2 separate regions of the Homo sapiens genome follow, and region 2 is linked to region 1. The links are contacts of gene promoters, found by promoter capture Hi-C in blood cells and fetal thymus (Javierre and others, 2016). All regions are on one chromosome and are shown on one strand. Each heading gives the region's core, a stretch centred on a gene start or on the middle of the fragment in contact. The rest is flanking DNA. Distances are from core to core; before and after follow the strand shown. Region 1 holds the start of ZFAND5 (zinc finger AN1-type containing 5). Region 2 overlaps KLF9 (KLF transcription factor 9).

Evidence for each region. The method cuts DNA at HindIII sites, captures the fragments that hold promoters and counts their contacts. A CHiCAGO score of 5 or more calls a contact.
Region 2: a fragment that was not itself captured here is called in contact with the fragment with the promoter of ZFAND5 in region 1 in 1 of 17 cell types (naive CD8 T cells); the score reaches 5.1 in naive CD8 T cells.

What each region holds. Positions count from the first base shown.
Region 1 is chr9:72,363,055-72,367,870 of GRCh38, forward strand. ZFAND5 (zinc finger AN1-type containing 5) reads right to left here and starts at 2,154. Exons shown (of 7, transcript NM_001102420.3): 1 at 1,642-2,154; 2 at 416-552. RefSeq lists enhancers at 1,157-1,860, 1,861-2,565 and silencers at 1,173-2,002, 2,013-2,392. The HindIII fragment of the contact is 8,298 bases long and covers 1-4,816 here.
Region 2 is chr9:70,391,488-70,396,303 of GRCh38, forward strand. All of the region lies in intron 1 of KLF9 (KLF transcription factor 9), which reads right to left. LOC124900273 (a long non-coding RNA gene) reads right to left here. Exons shown (of 2, transcript XR_007061576.1): 2 at 1,570-4,816. Among named protein-coding and RNA genes, the nearest start is that of KLF9-DT, 20 kb to the right of the region's middle. The HindIII fragment of the contact is 782 bases long and covers 2,134-2,915 here.

The DNA of each region.
Region 1 (4,816 bases), core at 904-3,403:
AAGATGAAAGCATAGTCAAAGCTAAAATGGTCAAGGTTGTTGATAAAAAACTAAGCACAGTGGAGACAGTGTAAAAAAGAATCCTCATTTAGTGAGGATTTAGGGGATGAAGTGGGGGATGTGTGTTCCCATTAGGTATTGCATTCCCCTTGTATTTTAGAAAAAAATACCATTACTATTTATTGCCTTTAAAGTAATTAGCAACTTGAGCATGCACGTGTCAGCTCTATCAGGTATAGCTAGAATGCAGATTTTATAAAGTTTATGGCTTCCTCTAACTTACAGCTTAAAAAAACACCCGAGTGTAACTGAACAATTCTCCAATTCCAATTCTGAACAAAGAGCTTTTACACCTATGGAATACAGTTCTTTCAGGTGCACATGATGTGATGAGATGGCATGAATTCCCACTCACCTGGGAATGGAGACCTGAGTTCAAGTCTCTAGTCTGCCACTAAGTCAGTGACCTTGGGCAAGTCCTTACTTTCCAGATTTCAGTTCCCTCTTTGCCAAATGGAGTAGAATTGACTTTTAAAGGCTCCTTTTCAGGGCCTGGGAGATAGAAAACAGGAGACAACTACAAAGAATCCTTAATTTTTTAGGGGGGTGTGGGGAAACATTTTAACAAAAAACTTCAAAGATAAAATTGCAGTATTTTCACCAACTGAGTTCTGAAAGCCTACTCTTTAAAAAAAATCCTAAAAATAAGGAATAAAATACATTCGTTTATGTTTTTAGAAGTCTGTATCTAAATCCCAGGTTTAAGAACGGGGATGTGTGACCTATATGTTCCTTTATCTTGGTATCTCCTTAGATGCTATCCCTTAGGAGACACTCAATCAATAAAGATAATCCGACCCTTCCCCGAAAACACACCTCCACGGAGTGCGTGGAAAGCGAGCAAAAAATTTCACATTCATCAGCCTAAATGCACCAAACAAAGGAGGTGTTCCATTTCCTCCATGAAAACGGATCTCAGGATAAAAACGCAGCGACGTCGAGAAGCCCAAAAGACGACGCCGAGAACCCCCGGCCCCATGTTCCAATGGATTTTGGAACAAGTTCGGGTCCCACTGATACCCCATCCCCCTCTAAGCAAAGGCCTCACTCAATAAAGCCCAACAGGGCCCTCTCCGAAAACCACTGAGTCATGCAGAACAGCAGCTCAGCAGGCCCGGCCAGCCCTTCGCCTGCAGGCCCCACGCGGATCCCCGACCCCCGACCCCCGACCCCGAACGGCTCCTCTTAGGGGAGAGCTAGGGGGGGCTGCAACGGGCAGGGGGCGCGGCCGCCGCCTCGGCCTCTTTGTTTCTCTGGGTCGTGGTGCCCACGCCGGGCGCCGCCGCGGAGGCGAGCGGCCTAGAGGCCGGCCCCGCAGAGGCGGCACGCCGTGCATTGTTTCCCGACCGTGCTGTGGAGCGAGCCAGGGACGCCGGGAGCCAGGTCTCGGGCCACGACGACAGGATGACGCCTCCGTCTTTGTGCTTCCTGGGCTGGCGGGCGGGCTCCCCTCCCCCGGACGCCGCCATCCGCGGCCTGCTCCGGCTTCGCCATTGGCCCGCGGCGCCCCGGTCCCTTCACTCCCGCCCCCGGCCCGGCAACAAGGAGCCCGGCTCCCACCCGCAGCCCCGTATCACTCACCCTGCAGGGTCCCAAATGCGAAAGCCGGGTTCGCGCGCGAAGCCGGCACGATGAGGCCGGGCCGAGGCCTCCGGGAAGGCTGAGCCGGGCGCCCTGGTGCCGCCGCCGCGGGCCGGGAGCGGGTCGGAGCAGCAGGCGGAGGTGGCGCCGCCGCCGCCGCGGGGTCTTCCTTTGTTCCTGCAGCAGCGTCGAGCGTGGCCGGGACACGCCGGAGCTCGGGAAGTGGGAGGAGGGAAGCGAGGGGGGGCCGAGGAGGAGGTGGAGGGAGGACCGGCGGCCGCAGCGGCTAACGCTGCTCGAGGCGCTCGCCTGTCGTCGCCTCACGCCTCCACAGGCCGCAGGTTGGGCGGACGAGGAGGGCGAGCGGACCGCGCGCCGCGAGGCCTGGGGCCGTAAGGGCCCGCTGATGGCGCTCTTCGCCGCTCCTGCCACCGCCGGGGAAGCTGCGCGGCTCCCGGGAGCGAGCGAGCCCGCGTAGGAGATGCACACAGCTCCGCGTCCCGGCCGACTAACGCACTCGCCGCCCGGCGCCCGGGCTGTGAGGGAAAAGAGGGGGAGGGGGCGGGACCCGTGCGTCAGCGAAAACCCCGGCGGCGGCGGCGGCGGCGGGGAGCGCGGTGACGTCGCGGGCCCAAGGCCACGCCCCCGGTGCCCTGTCAGTAGGTCCAGGAGGCGGGGCCGAGACGGGTTGCTGTGCCTTCTCGCGGAGCCCAGCCACTGGCCTGGCAGTCGGCCCCTAGGGTGGAGCTGGGAAGAGCGAGTCCTGTGGAGGATGCGTTTCTATTTTTAACCCAATTGTCCGCCCTCAGCCTCCCTCCTTCGGATTTTCTCATTCAAACCCGTTTTTCGCCATCCTAGTTCTCACGCTTTGTCTCCAGCCCTGGGCAGACATTCCCTCCCCCAAGAATCGTAAGGATTCACCCCCAGAAAAGGAAAAGAATTGCCTTATGGCTTCGAGGTCTTTTCTGTTTATGAAACCTCCTCACTCCCCACACCCATTTTGAGCTCCGAAGTCCAGCCCGAGCGTGGCCCTGACGCAGCTGGCGGCGTGCGTTCGCTCGCCCAAGGTCACGGGTGGTTGTGCGGAGTGAGGAAACGCGCGGCCGCCCAGGGCTGCCAATGCCCCGGCGGCGCTGTTCTGAACAAACTGTTTTGGCCAGCCTGTGAAATCCCTGGAAATTGACGATTCCAGCAAAGCGTCGTGAACTGGGAAAGCACCAAATGTTCTACTCAAAAGCCGCGAAGGGACAAAACAAGCTAGACCCGAGGCCCAGATGAAGCGGGAGGAGGAGGCTTGCGAGAGGAAGTTCAAGGGGGGAGGTACTAGGCGGGCAGTTCAGGCACGAGGCACAGGTCCCCCATGGGTGAAAGGATGACTTTACCCGGAACACTGGGAACCTTTTCAGAGCACAAACAAAAAACATTTTCAACTGACCGCTCCAAGTGAATTTCAGTTCAACTCAAAATAACAAAATTACTAAGTCGGAAAGGACTTCTGAAATTTTCTAGTAAACAACGGTCTAACGAATACATAGAAATGATGTTTAGGGTTTATATTAGCCACATATAGAATGGAGAAGAGGTCCCTTCAGTGTTTCTCAAAGTTGGTAATCAGAAAAAAAATCACCTGGGGTGATTAAAGATTCCTACGCATCTCCCCTGGATATGGTTTTGGTTGTTCCGGGGTGGGAGCGGGGGTGGGGGGGGGCCCATATTGCGCTTCAGGTGGTCCTTATTTATAATCTGTATTTGGGGGAATGCTATACTGATAGCTTGAGCCACCACTGCCAAATCAAACAGTTCTCCGCCACAGTTAGCAAAGTACCTGGAGCATAACAACCTTTTGTTTTGTTTTTTAACAAATTCGGGTTTATTACTGTGATCAATTAATGTATTAGAGATTTAAGTAGTTTGGGTCACTGGTCCCACGACCACTGCAATTTATTTCCTTAAATTAGCAGATGAATTAGTAAAAAAAAAAAAAAAATAGCAGCTACCATTTACAGGCCATTTTCAGTGCCAACTATTTTCCATTTAGGGTCTCATTTTATCCTCACAGCAATTCACTGAGATAGGTACTATTATCATGTCCCTTTCTACAGATAAAGAAACAATGACTAAAAAGGCTTGCCCAGGGCACTGAAGGGCAGGGAGGCAATGGAGGTGATTATTATTGAGAACAAAAATAACTTGAATTTTAACTTGAATTTTTTTCTTTCTCTAGAATTGGAGTTATAGTGAGTGAAACAAGATAATTCCTGAAGAAGCATACTTTAAAAAAAGTCTAAGGGTAATGAGGCAAGCTCATTATTGAATAGTGTATTCCATAATATTATGTCACCTTCTGATAATTCATCTTCTCTATCACCCATTTATAATTTTCTCTGAGACTGTTTCAATCAAGAATGTTGCAGGTATTGGACCTAAACATACCAAGATTCCTTTTTAGCAGCTATTTTCTAGTGGTTCTCAAAATGTGGTCTCCAGACTACCTGGGAACTTATTAGAAATACAGATTCTCAGGCCCCAGCACCAAACCTGTGGAGTCACAAACTGGGGGTTAGCACAGCCGTCTGTGGCTTAATAAGTCCTCCAGGTGATTCTGATGCATACACAAGTTTGAAAACTATTGACTTAACCCTACCATGGCATCAGGTGACCCCTCTTTTTTTCAGATGGCTCACACCATGTGAAAGGGAAAAGTTTAAAAAAAAAAAGTCTCATATTACTGGTGTAACAGATTAAGGGATATACTTCTAAGAAGGTTTTTGTTTTATTTTTGTTTTCTTATATTTTAAATTTTCACTTGCACTCCAAAGACAAACTGAATTGCTAAACACAGAATATATAAGAGAATGCTTCTAATATAACATGCCAAAGGGCTTTGCTCTATAGTCATTAGGGAAGGTCAACTTTGGCCTGAAACCAACCTCTGTAAAAAAGATAATGAGTAGCCAGTCGTGGTGGCTCACACCTGTAATCCCAGCACTTTGGGAGGCCATGGGGGGTGGATCATGAGATCAAGAGACTGAAACCGTCCTGACCAACATGGTGAAACCCTGTCTCTACTAAAAAATATACAAAAATTAGCTGGGCATGTTGGTGCGTGCCTGTAGTCCCAGCTACTCGGGAGACTGAGGCAGGAGAATCACTTGAACCCAGGAGACAGAGGTTG
Region 2 (4,816 bases), core at 1,275-3,774, 2.0 Mb before region 1:
AGGGACACCCACAGAGCCCCGAGAAAATCAAGAGCAAATAGAAGCTTCGTTAGACTCATGTAACTTGTATAATTCAAGTTTACCATTTTTACGCATTTAAAAAAGATCTGCTTGGAAGTGAGTTGCTAGTATAAAAGGCCCGGGATCATTTTGATTTATCTGGCATCCTTTGGAAAACTTTAAAAACTTTTTGGTCAGTGATCTAAATCAGGGGCTAGCAATCCACATCCCACTGGCCAAATCTGGCCTGCCATGAGCTAAGAATAGCTTATACCATTCTTATATTCGGTTTTTACCAAGTGGTTGAAAAAAATTAAAAGAATATTTCATGACAGGAGAAAGTTATATGAAATTAAAATTTCCTTGTCTGCATATAGTTTTATTGGAAACAGCCATGCTCATTGGTTTAAGTATTATCTACAGCTGCATTCTCAAAACAGCAGTGTTGAGCAGTTGCCCACAGAGACTGTACAGCCTGCAAAGCTGAAAATATTTACTATCAGGACCTTTTGCAAAAAGTTGGTTGATTCCTGATCTCAATCAAAAGACTTGAAGCTGGGTGTGGCGTTGCACACCTATAATCCCAGCTACTGGGGATGAGGCATGAGAATCGCTTGAACCCGAGGGGCGGAGGTTGTGGTGAGCCAAGATCACGCCACTGCACTCCAGTCTGGGCAACAGAGTGAGACCCTGTCTCAAGTAAATAAACAAATAACAGAGGACTTGAACTTCTAACTGGCCACCAGAATTTGTAAATTCAAATGTCTTCAGGAGCCAGACACAGGTCGGGGACAGGGTGGGAGCAGGTGCATTCAATCATGGATCATAATGGATTCCATGGTGAACTGAACAGGGTGCTTCCCCTACTTAGAGGCATTCAATTTCAACATTATAAATTATGGTGCCACCCAGTGGTGTGTACGCAGGCTGGATTCTGCTTAGGGACCTACAATTTGTAGCCCTTTGAAAAATCTCCCACCTTTTTAATACAGTGGAGAGTTTGGATCTAACATGCCATGATGTTGAATCTAACATCCCAGCATATAAGTTAATGACAGTCATATAATAAGGTATTATTTAGAAAATGATAGATGTTTTGCACTTAAGAAAGCATGGAATGGGGAAGTCACATGTAGACGAGAACAGAATTAAGGCTGAATGGGACCAGAGATGATCTACAGAGGAGGAGAGGACTGGCCTAGAGAGACGGTCACTCCACCTTCGTCTGGCAGCCTGGGGGAAACCAAGTCAGGCCCTCTCTTTGAGGCTCGGTGCTAAGGTCTAAAGGAGAATGGTCAGCCTTCACGCTGAACAAATCACACAGCAATGCAACTATCAATTAGAGAATCTTTAAACCTGTCTTTAGTATTAATGAGAGAGTTACCATCCTCCTGGGGATAGGGAAAAAAATACCCAACACACTTGTACCACTGCATTATTTCTGGCCTTCACAGGAAAACACACCCAGAGGCAGTGACACAATAAACTCCACTTTACTGGAGCAGAGCTGTTAACAGCACAAGTTTCTCTGAGTTCTCATTATTTATATACCACTCCCCGCCCCTTTCAGTAACAAGCTAAGCACCTCTTGCTGACTGACTCAGCTCAGAGTATAAAATAAATGTGATCAAAAAAGCTACTGAACACTGCGCACAATGTGTAAAAGACTTCCTTTGCAGAGACAGTCATCAGGCCTCCAGAATTCTCCTGGGCCTACGGAGGGTGCAAGAACAGTGGACTGGGGCCCCCTGGCTATGTGCTTGCCTACTTAGCACAAAAGGACACTTGCTGCTTTTGAGAGGGAGCCTCCTCGACTGCTGATTAGTTGATGATGCCAAATGAAGCCCATTTTTTTGTGGGCAGTCCTGAAACGAATGGAGGTGAGTTCTCCATAGAGAAGACAGAGACCGGGTACTTGCCAAGTGCCAAGCTTGCTCACTGGACATAGGCAACCCTCCCCAGACTCCCTGAGCTGTCCAGGCTGCCACTGAAGTCCTGCCTGGGGTCAGGGAGGCCTGCCATCTGAATGTCGTCTCTTTCCTACCTGGTTCTTCTCATCTTCCCTGCCCCACCCAAGTCCAGGGATGGGTCTAACTTTAATGGAGACAGGAAAGTCAAAAATACAAAATCAAAAGCTTCCATTGCATCTAGCAAAAGTAAACCAATCTGGTAAAAAACAAATCTAAGGGATTTAGGCCTCCTTTTCAGAACAGAGCTCAAACAGTGCCAATTAAGAATTAAAGTTTCTTGCAGATGTAGAAAATCAAGACTTCTTCTAGAAGAAAAATAATGCTCAGCCGCTCAAGATGGATCACTTGAACACAGAAGTTCAAGACCAGCCTGGGCAATGTGGTGAAACCCCATCTCTACCAAAAATACAACAAATTAGCCAGGCGTAGTGGTGCTTGCCTGTGGTCCCAGATACTTGGGAGGCTGAGGCGGGAAGATTGCTTGAGCCCAAAGGTTGAGGCTGCAGTGAGCTATGATTGTGCCACTGCACTGCAGCCTGGGTGAGAGTGAGACTGAGACCCTGTCTCAAAAAAAAAAAAAAAAAAAAGAGTGGTTTCTGATTGCAAAAACAGCACTAGGATTCCATAGATAAAAGAAGAATTTGGGCTGGCTGTGGTAGCTCACGCCTGTAATCCCAGCACTTTGGGAGGCTGAGATGGGAGGACTGCTTGAGCCCAGGAGATCAAAACCAATCTGGGCAACACAGTAACACCCCAACTCTACAAAAGAAATGTAATTTTAAAAAGGACAATTTGATATTATTAAATCATACTGATATTATTCCCCCATTTAACAGCTCATACACACACACACACACACACATTTAGTATCATTTAATATCATATACACACTCTTATCGTGTACAAAATAGTATATGATAAAATTGAACAACCATCCCTAATAAAAGCTTTCAGGAAAATAAAATAATTCCTCAGCAGTATAAAAGATCAGCTCTGAAACCTTTCCTCTGCAAGGTCAACAGTAAAATAAAGGTAGTATAACTACTAAAGTCTAGCCCAAAGCATAAATGGACACCCGCTCCCATTGCTATAATTTAACATTTTCCAGGAAATACTAATGAGTGCAATTAGATAAAATAAGAAGTAAATGGTGAGAAGAAGGGGGGGTTATAAAATAAGAATTATTTGCAGTTGACACAACTTTCTCTTTGAAAAAATTCAAGATAACTGAAAAATCTAATCTAAATTAAAGGTGCATTCACAGATGTAACTGTACAAAAGAGCACTGGCTTTCTTATATGCCAGCCATAACCAGTCAGAATAAGCCTAACAATAAAAGTTCAGGACCTTGGTGAAGAAATGCATAAAGCCTCAATATAAAAGAAAATGAACAAACAAAATGCTTGCCATGCCTTTGGATGGTAAGGCTCAATGGTGTGAATATGGCAATTCTGTACAAATTCATCTACGGAATTAACACACACCGTAAGAATTTCTTTTTCTAGAACTTGACAAAGTTATTTCTGAAGTTCATTTGGAAGAATAAACATGCCCAACTTGCCAAGAAAATTTTGCGGAAGAACAAATAATAAGTGAGCACTTGCAATACTAGTTATTAAAATGGATTATTAAAGCTGTAATAATTAAGATAGTGAGATAGCAGCACAGGAAAAGACAAATCAGTGGAACAGAGTAGGGTCTGAAAATAACCTTAAGAATCTATAGGGATTCTGTACATGGTAAATGGGGTATTTCAAATCAGTGAAACAGAAAATGTTTAATTCAGTAAGTGGCTTAGATGTCAGGTAAAAGAAAAAAATTAAATCTTAGTCCCTACCTCATACTTTTCACTCAAATGATTTCCAAATGGGCTATAAATGTAAATGTAAAAAATAAAGCCATAACGATAAAATATAGGTGAGCATTTTTAGAATCCTGGAATAGAGACTTTCTAAACATGAAACCAAAAGCAAAATCCTACTTGAAGGATAGTTTTGAATACGTAAAAATGTTAAACTTCTGCATGTTAAAAATATATATAAGTAGAAAAATTTAAGAATCAAAATAAATTAAAAGAAATTGAAGCATATGACAAAATGTTAAAATCTGTAACACAGAAAGGACTTGCAAATCAAAAAGGAACAGCCCAACTTAATAAAAGTGGGCAAGGATGCAAATAAATAATTTATAAAGTAAGAAATACTGGCCAGACGTGGTGGTTCATGCCTGTAATCTCAGCACTTTGGGAAGTCGAGGCAGGCAGATTGCTCGAGCCCAGGAGTTTGAGACCAGCCTGGGTAACATGGCGAAACCTCATCTCTACTAAAAATGCAAATATTATCCAGGCTGTGTGGTGCACACCTACAGTCCCAGCTACTCAGGTGGGAGGATCACTTGAACCAGTGAGACAGAGGTTGCAGTAAGCTGAGATTGTGTCACTGCACTCCAGTCTGGGTAACAGAGCCAGACGCTGCCTCAAAATAAATAAATAAATAAATACATAAATAAAATACTAATGACCAAGAAATAAATACGAAAATATTTAATATTTCATACAAAAATATATTCAATCTCACAAGTAATCAAAACATGCCAATTAAGACACCAGCAAGATATCTGTGAGGCTAGTGAAAACGTTAAAAAATCTGTTCATACCGACCACTGGTGGAGGCATGAGGAAACAGGCCCTCTACCACACTGGTGGGATTTATAATTAATCCAGGGCCATCTGGCAATATTCTCCTGCAGATTATTTTTGGCAATTAATTTGATAATAATTAGATAGAGACATGAAAAGGGATACCAGCATTGCTTATGAGAGCTAAAAGGTGGTAACTTAAATGCTC